Regions from separate parts of the Homo sapiens genome. Here region 2 is linked to region 1. The links are contacts of gene promoters, found by promoter capture Hi-C in blood cells and fetal thymus (Javierre and others, 2016). All regions are on one chromosome and are shown on one strand. The core of a region is centred on a gene start or on the middle of the fragment in contact, and the rest is flanking DNA. Distances in the headings are between cores, read along the strand shown.

Region 1 (5,931 bases), core at 2,935-5,434:
AAAAAAAAATTCAAAATTACTTAAAGCCATGGCACTGACATTAGAATACCTTATTTTTTTTATTTGGTTTGAGTCTTTAAATAGTTTGAAAAAAGGACGCCAATTAAATGGTTTCTAAAGCTAGTTCAAGTGGTTTATGATTTATGCATACAAGTACAGAATCCCCTATAACCTCTTTCAAGAGTCAGTGATCATTAGGATAACTGAATTCTGATCCAATGTGATAAAATAAGCCTCATTACATTGTCACACTTCAAGAACAACATCACGGGGTTCTTCAGTTCCTCATTTCTTGCTGTCACAGAGGTAATCGCTGGGCGTCTTTTATTTCTATTAAATTAACTTTTGGTAAAGGAAAAGAATAACATCAATTATAAAAAATTTTTGAAACATAAGTTCAAAAACCTAAAGAAAAATTGATGATTCTTTTTCTGAGTTAAAATTTTTCTAATTATTGTAATTATTTTGAAACACTAAGATGCCAAGAGGTAAGAAAATTACTCCTGCCAGAAATTAACTGATGATATTGACACAATTCCCTGCTGCCTCCTTAATTCAGGGACACAAAACAAGCATACCATAAGGCACCCACGTGCTGCCTGGTACATTACAGTAGCTAATCAATGCAATTAGTCTTGTTAAGATAGAGAGTTCAAGAAGCCAAATTTCACCAATGTTGCAGCCAACATAAATCTTTTTAAATGCTATATTAGAACACACATGATTCTAACAGGAAATAGTAGTCCAAGCTGCCTTCGTGGAATAAAATAATAGCTACGTTCCCGATTTTTTGTATAAAAGCAGAAAATGAAGTGAGTTTCCTTCTCAGCACCATTCAGAAATGGTAAGAAGGAAAACAGGCTCATCTAGCCAACACAAATTTTCTCTCACATGCACCCTGACCTCTATGCTTCTAGTTAGTATCTGAATCCCAATGTTTCATGAAATTAGAAATTGCAAACTGGCTCTTAAATATGGGCTTAAAATATGTAAGTTATGTAATTTATTTCCAACTTTTTGGTGGCCGAACACTTCCAAATGGAAACCAAAAACAAAGCAAAATAAAACAAACAACAACAACAACAAAAAAAAACCCACAACATTTCTTTTAGAAATCATTGGCAACCTCTCAATCTCTTCAGTTTGAAGTGAATGGAATTCCAGCTCCTTCCAAACTCCTGTCACTCCATATATTCTCTAAAGAAACTAAATGGAATTTCTCTTAAAGGCTCTTATTTTCTGGAAACCTAGAAGTCCCTGAAATAATGGGATCTGGAATACAACAAATTACACAGCCATTGTAGGGATGTAACAGACCTAAATATTGTTTAGCTCATCCATCCTTAAGTTTAATGGAAATGGTGCAGCGTCTTCCCCACTGAATAACATCACGTTAATTATTTTTGAAGCCTGAGGAACAAACACAACTAACTGCCATCCAGGGATTACACAAATCCAAGGTGTAACACAATATGTTTTTACTAATTCATTTTAATACTTGCCTTCTCTCTCCCACAGAACTCACACACTGGATTAGTCTTGACTAGCAAAACCAGATCAGGAAAAAGAAAACTGTTATTTTGGTTTAGATGGGATAATTATTTTTGACTGTTTTGAGTCTTAGAAAAGCCAAAGCTCATTAACAACGTTAATATGAGAGACATTAGTCTGGATTGCTACATTATTTGTTCATGTGTTTGGGGTCATTTTGGAAATGGGAACATGAGTATGTAATATTGACATTTTCATTTTCGTTCAAATGTGTTTGAAACTGTTCAAAGAAATGTCTTCTTTCCAAACTGAACACATCATATTAAACGCTGAATTAGGGTTTACACAAGGATATTGACTTATGTCCTGGGATTCTCTGCATCTCCTCAAACCATCTTGTGGTTTTAAACTTCATGCATTAAAAGTGAGTACAAACAAAAGGGAAAAAACTGCATTTCTATTAGGTCTGTTATTTTGACTATTTAGATTAAACTGTATATTTTCTTTTCAGTCTTCCAGTTACCTTATAAAGGCAAGGAAGAACTGGTAGTTTGAAATAAAATAATTTCAAAAAGTGCTGTACCCCCTGAGTATTCTGCTGTAATAAGGTAAGCACCTTTCTCCTTTGTTGATGCAATCATTTACATCTTCACCCCGCAAACACCTGTCACATCCTTTTAAATATTTGTTTTTCCTTTTCCTAGGATGAAATCCCATAAGTCAATTTTTTCTCGGGATTGTGAAGTTCACTGCACACAACCAGCCTTATTTTACATCTCTTTCTTTTATTTCAACCATCTGGGGACTGGGCAGAAGTCATGGTCAGAGGGGCACATATGTATTGCTTTGATGATGGGGGCAGAGAACAAACAGGAAGAACTGGGAAATGAAAATTGCTTTACTTCTTATATTCTGACTAGAAAGGCAACCCAAATGGGAATCATAACAGGGATAGTTCAGTGGCAAAAAGACACCCTTAAAAATAGAAGCTAGAAGTTAAAGGAGGGGTGACATCACACTTTTAGAGTTGACATCAGAGGAAGTTGCATCTCTTGGTGCCATGTTATACATGCACCGTCGGGGCAGCAGAACTGATTAGTGTGCCCAGTTGCACAAAAGGACTGTAATGTGCATGGGCCCCAGTGTTAGCCATGTGACTCTGTTAATGGATCCAGCTTGATCTTTACGCTCTTCAACTAAGCTAGTGCCCAAGCAGTTCTTGTATTTCAGCTTAGAGGGGGTTCTGGAAAAGCTCTTGGTGATAGCATTTTTGGAGAACGGAGAGAAAAAAACATTTCTATTAAGTCTGCCTCAAAAAGTAGGAATTTCAGGTCAATGTTAAATGCCTGGCATGAGTTTTATATATATTTTTAATATTTCAGGCTTATTTTACCAAAAGAAAGCTGGTGTAACACGTTCACATCAGACAAAATAGGTATCAAAGCAAAAGGCATTAGAGATGAAGAGGATCACAGCACAGTGGGAAAAGGTTCAGTTCAGATATAGGTACATATTATATAAAGCAAAAATACACAGAAACAAAAGGAAAATAATTCGATATTTAAAGATATTAGGTTAAGTGAAATTTTTATAAGTCTTGAAAACAAATCAGAAACAGGTGAGACACAGGAAAATCATTTTTAGCAACAAAGTACTAAGAGGGTGCATGGACAAGGAAAACTTTTCCCTCCCTAAGCCCATACCTCTAGTTGATAATCTGTTCCCATCCCCAGGTCCCAGCAAACATTCTAAGACCCAAGAACAGGTTTACTGGGAGGAATTCGAGGCACTGCAGTTCATGTGCTGAGTTAAATAAGCTCTGGAAATAGAAGCTGAAGAATCACAATACCCAATCTAATTTAACCAAAGTCTAATTAGAGAATTTACCAGAAATTGAGAGACTTGCTAGACATAATTTCCTGTTAGGAAGTAGTATTTTTCTCCTTTCAAATTTTTAAATGTTTGGTATAATCAGCAAAATAGAAGTAAATTATCAATTTAAGCTTAACAGAGATATTTTGTTAAGTAATATCACAGTACCTTATAAATAAAAAATATTAATTATTTCCAGTTAGTCACACGTATTATTACTAATAATGAGTAAATACAAAAATATACACTCAAACAGAAAGAGCCAAACTGGCTCCCATAATAATAGTAGGTATTTTCCTAAGCCTTGTACACAGTAATAAATAAATAAATCTGCCACATCTTTACCATTCTTTAAATGACAAGCTGGGTTTTGATGAATTCCACTTTTTCAGTCAAAAATCATATTCATGATTTAAATTGTGCTGTATGAAATTGTCCCTTTTATTTCTGTATATTCTCAGATGAGATGCATACATATTGGTTCAAGACCTCTTGTTGCCTCTTTTTAACATTGTCTTTGTATCACTCGCAGCCCCCAAACAACAGGTTAAAACCAGCCCAACTGGTTAGTAAGATTGATTGAGAAAAAAGAAAAAGAAAAAAGTCAAAATAGTTTATACAATAAAACTATTAGGAGACTATGAAAAGTTCGCTAATGCATTCAATAGAACCTGAAAAAGAGCTAAATATGTACCTGCAACAGAGAGGAGGAGACTGACTGGCAGGAGACCTTGCAACATGCTGGGTGATTCCAGGAGCACGGTGTCTGCTCTTCTCGCTCAGGTGGGTGCTGCTGGGTCTGTCCCTGCCTCCTCTCCAGTGAGACAGAATGAAACTCCCTGGTTCATTCTTGTCTCTGATTCAGGAAGTGTTTACTAAAGGTGTTGCGCAACCTCGAAGCTGTGGTCCTGCAACAATGGCCCAGCAGGCGGAAGTCCTGGCTGCCTCCTGGCTCTAAGATTACTTGATCTGAACTATTGTTTTGCTCTCCTTTGCCATACTCCCCACTCCAAAGTAGTACATTTCCAACATATTACTATAGCCAGATAAGCTACAAGGAAAGAGGCAACTGCATTAATGAGTCTTGAAAAACATGCTAGACATTTATTTACATTACGGATATGATATATAAATATATGTTTAAATATATTTTTATATATATACAGTTGTAGGAAAAAAGTTATTAAGAATGTTATTTTTCCCCCACATACATAATGTGGTTATGTAAAGCAATTTCTAATTCAACCTAATTACTATATAGCATTCTCTTTTCCATTATTTTATGTTCTATTCCTCACACAAGTGTACTCTCAGGAAGTTTGAACTATCCTGAAATAAGAATGTCTGACAATATAAGCACAATAATTTTTAGATCCTTGGGGGTATTTGTGTCATAACTGGCAATGAGGAGTGTGGAAGAAGGATTCAAGACCCAAAGGATACAATTTTAGGATCTGTCACTGGTGGTAGTAAGGCTAAACTGGGCATGTCTAAAAATCATACTTATAACCAATAAAATAACTAATATCAACTGAGCTGCTTATTAAGTTTTAGGTACTGATAGGGTTTGGTTGTGTCCCTACCTGAATCTCATCTTGAATTGTAGCTCCCATAATCCCCATGTGTTGTGGGAGGGACCCAGTGGGAGATAATTGAATCAAGGGGCGGGCTTTTCCCATGCTGTTCTCATTATAGTGAATAAGTCTCATAAGATCTAATGATTTTATAAAGGGCAGTTCCCCTGCTCAGGCTCTCTTTGCCTGCCTCCATGTAAGATGTGTCTTTGCTCCTCCTTCACCTTCTACCATGAGAGTGAGGCCTCCCCAGCCATGTGAAACTGTGAGGCCATGAAACCTCTTTTTAATTTACCCAGTCTCAGATATTTCTTCGTGATAGTATGAAAATGGACTAATACAGGTACTCTCCTAAATCTACTGTACTTGTTATTTTATTAGTCTTTATGATACTCATGTATTATGCATTTACAATCATTTTGCAGGTGAAAATTTGGGGTTTTAAAGGCAAAATTCAAAAGATTAAGAATCAGTTGTCCCCTCATTGTATAGATTAAGAAGATTAAGCAGATAAAGTCACCTATCCAGTAAGTGGTAGAAGTGGAATCTGAACTATGTGTTGTCTGGGCTCTTAGTCATATACTCTAATGCTTTCCCTTGGCTTAGCTGACTTGTACTCCCAGTATCATTTCTATTGAAAAGATTCTGGGAGAATAGAAATAATTATGAAATTCCTAAGGAATAGAAATTACGCTGAGGACCAGTTATTACCACAAAACCTAGTCCTAGTCCACTAAAATCATGCATCATTTTACAGATTCTGAAACACATTCTCATACTAGAGGGATTACAGTGATTATTGATGTCTCCAAATGATTATACAGTCATCAACTAAAACCACAAAGGAATTTTTGAGTCTAGTTACTGAGCATTTTAACCATCAGGATTGCGATTCACAGATTTCTTGCCTTTTCAACCCAAGTTCCATTGCTTTGTCTTTTCCAGGGAACAGAAAGGATACTTCAACTTTTAATTATTACATATTTTTTCTCCA
Region 2 (5,615 bases), core at 2,322-4,821, 110 kb before region 1:
AGGGCCACACTGTGCAGCTATACTTGCTCATTGGCTAGGAAGTCAGTGGAGAAGGGGTGGTGATCATATTTTTAGGCTAATAGAATCCATCCTACTGCATTCCCTGACCACTCTGATGACATTCATTTGCCTACCTTAGAGCAGGTAGCTACATATGGAACTTTAAAAGTTTATGTTTAAGGTTCTGTAATCAGTGGTATGCTGGTAAATTTTTAAAAGCTGACTCCCTGGTAGTCCTACTTTTAATTCTTTAAGGAATCTCCATGCTGTTTTTCATACTAGTTATACTAGTTTATATTCCCACCAGCAGTATAAAAGTGTTCCCTTTTTGGAACCAACCCAAATGCCCATCAACCAATGAGTAGATAAAGAAAATGTGGTATGTATAAATCTTGGAATACTACTCAGCCATAAAAAGGAATAATGTCTTTTACAGCAGCTTGGATGTAGCTGGAGGCCATTCTTCTCAGTGAAGTAACCCAGAAATGGAAAACCAAATATTGTATGTTCTCACTTATAAATGGGAGCTAAGCTATAAGGATGCAAATGCACAAGAATGATATAATAGACTTTGGGGGCTTGGGGGGAATTGTTGGAAGGAGGGTGAGGGATAAAGGACTATATATGAGTACACTGCACACTGCTCAGGTGATGGGTGTACCAGAATCTCAGAAATCATCACTAGATTACTTATCCAGGTAATCAAAAACTACCTGTACGCCCAAAACTATTGAAATAAAAATAAAAATTAATAATTAATAATTATTGATGAGAAAAAAGCTATCTCTTGGGGAAAAAAAGGATGTGTACATATAAGTACCTATGTTTATTCTAAATTTCGGTGATATAATGTGTAGCATGCAGTTTTTGAATAATAATTAAAAATACAATATTACTATAATTCCAAACAGGCAATTGATTTTAACAGAATGCTTCCGTTGGTTTCTGTTGAACTATTAAGCCTTAGCCAAACTATGCTGGCAAGCAATGAACGAGTATAGTTCCAACATTTTGGTTGATATTTTTGCTTACATCAATGAGTAAAATTGAAAGAATAAAGACATATATTAGAATTTCACTCATTCATTAAAAGTGTGAGTGACTATTGAGTTGGATGATAGTTTTCAAATAATGAAAAAATATCCTTTCAAAATTTTATGCTTTCACATTTTAATTGCTATAAACAAGACTTACTTTTAAGTTAAAACTCCATCACTTTCTTAAGTATAGACAATAAATAAAACAATAAATCAAACCTCGATTTGTAGCATTTGGCTATTCTGTGCTAAAGTCCTCCTGTCATATACCACTGCAACGTGATGTCACTGGCCAGACAGTAGGGAAGAGGTCTCAGTAGCACATGCTTATATAGTATTTACATCACATAACTATGTTAGAGTTAAATAACTATAGAGCATAGATGAGTCAAATGTAGTAGAATAGGGAGTGATATGTTTTGAGTATTTCCTTTGCTTTTGCTAGAATTTAATTATGAATTTATACACGTTGGGTTTCGGTAGTGGCCGTGTTTAGCAACCAGCTCACAATATTTCTTAAAGTTTAACAGTTGACATTCACAAGCCTGTACTAGAAGTCTCCAGCATGCCACTGATTTTAATCCCTGCAGCTCAGTGAGTTTTGCTATAAGAAGCCCCTACCTGAGCACAAGGTCAGGGGTTGGGGGTGGGGTGGAAAGGATGTCCTAAGAAGCCCTTTTTCCTTCGAAGAATTGGCTGGAAGTTCGTATCAAACCCGTGGGCAGTGGAGATCTTGGCAAGGCATATCCTGGGGCTGCAGCCGGGCTGATATGCACACCTGGCATACAGCTTCACAGGAAACACTGGCAGTGCCAGCCCATCGATGACATCAAGGCCATGAAGGGGGAGATGGCCAACACTGTCATGCAGGGCATCCCAGGAGGCCCTTGGTTTCAAAGCCCAATCTTTAAAAACATGTCTAAGTTTCTAGTCTCCCAGCATAGGCATCTGTGGAAATTTAGGTAACTTTCATTAATTGTTAAAAATTATTTCAAGAAAGAAGCCTCAGGAAGAAGCCTAGTCTTCCTGTGTGACTGGCCTCACATCATGCCATTTTGGGCATGAAAAGATGATACAACCTCCTCTTCTCATGTTCATATAGCATTGCTTGGCTATCTGTGACAATATTATCAAATTACCAGAGCGATGATTTTCCAATGATGTGAGCTTCAGCACCTAACACAAACCTACAAAAGAAGCTTGAAAATACTCAGTTTTGAAAATGACCACACAGAAAAGCCTCAAAAGTTGTGTTTTTATTGACATTATGGTTCAATAAATCATTAAGCCTTCTTTGCTGGCTCAATTAAAATGTAAGCAATGTAGACTTCTCAAAATAAACTTCATATATGATGATGAAGGAGATGTGTGTATAGGATATACATGATAAAATGAAAAATATTTACATTGAATCATTCTTGACATGATGTAGAAAAATACTGCACTTTCAAGAGCAAGGCGAAGTGAACACAGAGGAATAACATAAAACCTGAATTCTATTCTTCTTTCTATTGCCAAAGCCTTCACCCATCAAGTGGTATTATTTTTTTTATAGGCCATACTAGTAAGATGAAAGAAGCATTAAAGCATAGTACTTGTAATTTAACAATTCTGGAGTGTTAACTCTGAATAGTTTAGCCGTGCATTTTAAGGTGATTTGATGGAAGACTGCTTTCTTTTGTTCTCCAAAGGGCAGAACTAAGTCACAAATTCATGATCTTTAAAAAAAAAGAAAAAAGAAAAAAAAAAGTAAAAAGAAAGATTAGGCCTAAACAAAGAGCCAATGTCTCTAATTACATCTGTTTACCTGTTTCCTGGACTGATAACAATATAGAAAGTAGAATGACAAGTGAAAGACCATTATGGGTGAAAATTCACAAGATTCCTGGGACAGTTAGAGTTCTTGGTTCTTGTCCTGGCAAGGTAGCATCTCAGTGAAGCAGACTTTTGGATTCACTCTCTGATTGAAGGAAAAATAAAATTTGGAAGCCAGGGTTATTACAAGTTACAAAATATTATGTAATAATGATAATGAAAATGTATAGAATTTAAATTATGTGAATAACAATTCATATTATTTAAGAGACTATACCATTAGCTGTATTTCATGAGTGAAAAAAACTAATTTATCTGGACTTAAAGTCCCACAGCTAGTTTCTGACAGAAAAGACTAGAATTTTAGTTTCCTGAGTCCACCTCCAATTTTCTTCCATGGTATAAATTGCCTATCTTGCACAGTAAGGGGCATGTTCACCTAGGGTTCCAAGCCCTTAAATAGCTGGATGATTTTTTTTCTTTTGTGATGCTATGTTTCTGGCCTGGGCACAGTTTCCAGAATTCCCTGCAGAGTGGATTCATTCCATGATTCATGTAGGCTGTATTAAATGGTGTTTGGTAAATAAACAAGCGTTGGTCCTTATCTTTGACCTTGCCTATCCATTCCCTATGAAATGATAATTGATGGTGCTTGAGTCAATTATTTTCTTTATACTGTCTCTGCAGTTTCAATTCCAGAAAAGAATTGGGAAAGAGGAGTAAAGAAAATGTATCCTGAGTCTTTCCCCTATTTTTTATTTTTCTTGTTGCCATTTTATATTTAGAGGTTATTTTTCACTGAAACAAGTACCATTTTCCAAGTAACTGGGTTCCCTAGCCCAGCTCACATAGGATTGTATAAGACACAGAACTACTACCTGAATTATGGCTCATTGAGACACTTTAAAGGGAGTAAAATTGTCAAATCTTATAGCATGTTCTTAAATGCTATTGATTTTCTGACAGCCTTGCAAATTAAAACTATCAGCTTTTAACCAAGAATAAAATGAGCTCATCAACTGAGGCTGTTTTTAAATACACTTTTCTTTTCTCATTTTGGTTTGTATTAAACTCATCGTTCTCTAACGGGAATTTAAACAGTTTTTGGCATAGATTCCAGCAGCCCTAATCTCACAAATGTCAAAGTAGCTACTTTCTCATGAGTGTTTGTCTACAATCCTTAGTCATGCTCATAATGATTGCTAGTTTTCCTCTCCAAAATTGAGTCGTTTGAAAAATATAAAATACATTGTGTTTTAGTGTATTATGGAACCCAGTGGCATATTTTTCTCAAATCTGAAATAAACGTGAGAAAACGTTTTGGAACAAAGAAAACAAAAGGTCTTACGTGGTATGGTTTGGAGCATCTCCTCCGCAATCAGTTCCAGGCTTCAGTTTACACGTTAGGGCTTCACAGCAGAGATTGGTACACTCCTTCAAAGCACACACACAATGGAAAAAGGTGGGTTCAACATTTTCTTCCCATAGACTAGGTGATAGAATTCTGGCACAAGATGGCAATGAAAGTTTACTTTTTAAGGTAAATTACTCTGATAGGCAAATTCCAGTGAAAATGACCAAGGACATTGAAAAATAGAAAACAAAATATTATCAGCAATGAAGACTTCTCAAAAGGTGAGAAATAGAATTATTCAAGAATTTTTCAAAAATAAATTTTGTCTAGATGTATGATGTGTAAGTCCAAACTAAAAAAAATTGAACATACAGCAGAAAGAAAAATATGAAAATAATTTAGAAAGCCTTTCAAAAGTGCAGGAACTCCATGAAGAACTTTATATATACATTTCCTGAGAAACTTTAAAGGCAACTTGTCTTTTAAGACAATACTTAATATTGTAAAAATATCAGTGCCCTTCAAAGTTAAATATAAATTTAATGCATTTCCATCAAATCTCAATGGTATTTGAGGGCAAATTTGCAGCTAAAACAGTAACGACAAAACAATGAAGAGACTTGACATTAAAACGCATTGTCAAGTTACAATCTTTAAAATAGTGTGATGCCTGGGAGAAATATCTAGACAGAAAGCTTATTTTTAAAATCTAAAAAAAAAACCCTAACTATATACCTAGGAATAATAAACTGGGATATCAGATCTATGAGAAATTGGATTACTCAATAAACAATACTGTATGAAGTATACATACTACTTTTTGGAAAAGAAAACAGTTATTTAGAAATTCAGTTGTTCCTAAGCCTGAACTCTCTGGTTTTATTCAATTACATAAGAAAAAAATCAACAAGATATGAAAATAATACAAGAGTTGACTGACATAATTCAAGAATTTTAGATGTTACATATTGTGTATACAATGGTCCTCTCTTGGCCTCTTCCTTCATCCTTTCCCCCTTTCTTCTCTGTAAATACATACCATTTACTTGCTGAAACCAGAAGTACCTAGGGTTTTGAGTATCTTCAATTGTCTTCCACCCAAGAAACCATAGATGAATGTAAGCAAGTAAGAACGAGATAAACGTAACTCTAATTTGCTATAAAATGTCAAATCTTTTGTAAAATTCCATGCCTCTTTATAATTAACAGAAAGTTTACAATATTCTTCACAAATGACTAAGTTAGGCTGTGTAGTCTTCTGATCTAATCTAACCAGCTAAAATTTCTGAATACATAAACTGAAGCATAGAGAGTTTAGACGCCATGTTCATTGTCACAGAGCCATCTTAAGTAATGGATACTTCTTGGACTGCATCCTGCTTCACCAGTGGAGCAACAGAATATCTTTT

The links. Contacts are between HindIII fragments. The CHiCAGO score rates a contact against its expected background, and 5 or more counts as called.
Region 2: a contact is called between a fragment that was not itself captured here and the fragment with the promoter of ADAM28 in region 1, in 1 of 17 cell types (total B cells). The highest score is 6.1, in total B cells.

Annotation. Positions count from the first base shown.
Region 1 is chr8:24,292,322-24,298,252 of GRCh38, reverse strand. ADAM28 (ADAM metallopeptidase domain 28) reads right to left here and starts at 4,184. Exons shown (of 23, transcript NM_014265.6): 1 at 4,058-4,184. The coding sequence starts at 4,103. It overlaps ADAM7-AS1 (ADAM7, ADAMDEC1 and ADAM28 antisense RNA 1), which reads left to right. Exons shown (of 6, transcript NR_125808.1): 5 at 2,003-2,099; 6 at 2,196-2,439. The HindIII fragment of the contact is 10,253 bases long and covers 3,497-5,931 here.
Region 2 is chr8:24,402,674-24,408,288 of GRCh38, reverse strand. It overlaps ADAMDEC1 (ADAM like decysin 1), which reads right to left. Exons shown (of 14, transcript NM_014479.3): 13 at 4,201-4,286; 14 at 2,276-2,997. The coding sequence ends at 2,991. All of the region lies in intron 1 of ADAM7-AS1 (ADAM7, ADAMDEC1 and ADAM28 antisense RNA 1), which reads left to right. Among named protein-coding and RNA genes, the nearest start is that of ADAMDEC1, 21 kb to the right of the region's middle. The HindIII fragment of the contact is 2,665 bases long and covers 2,239-4,903 here.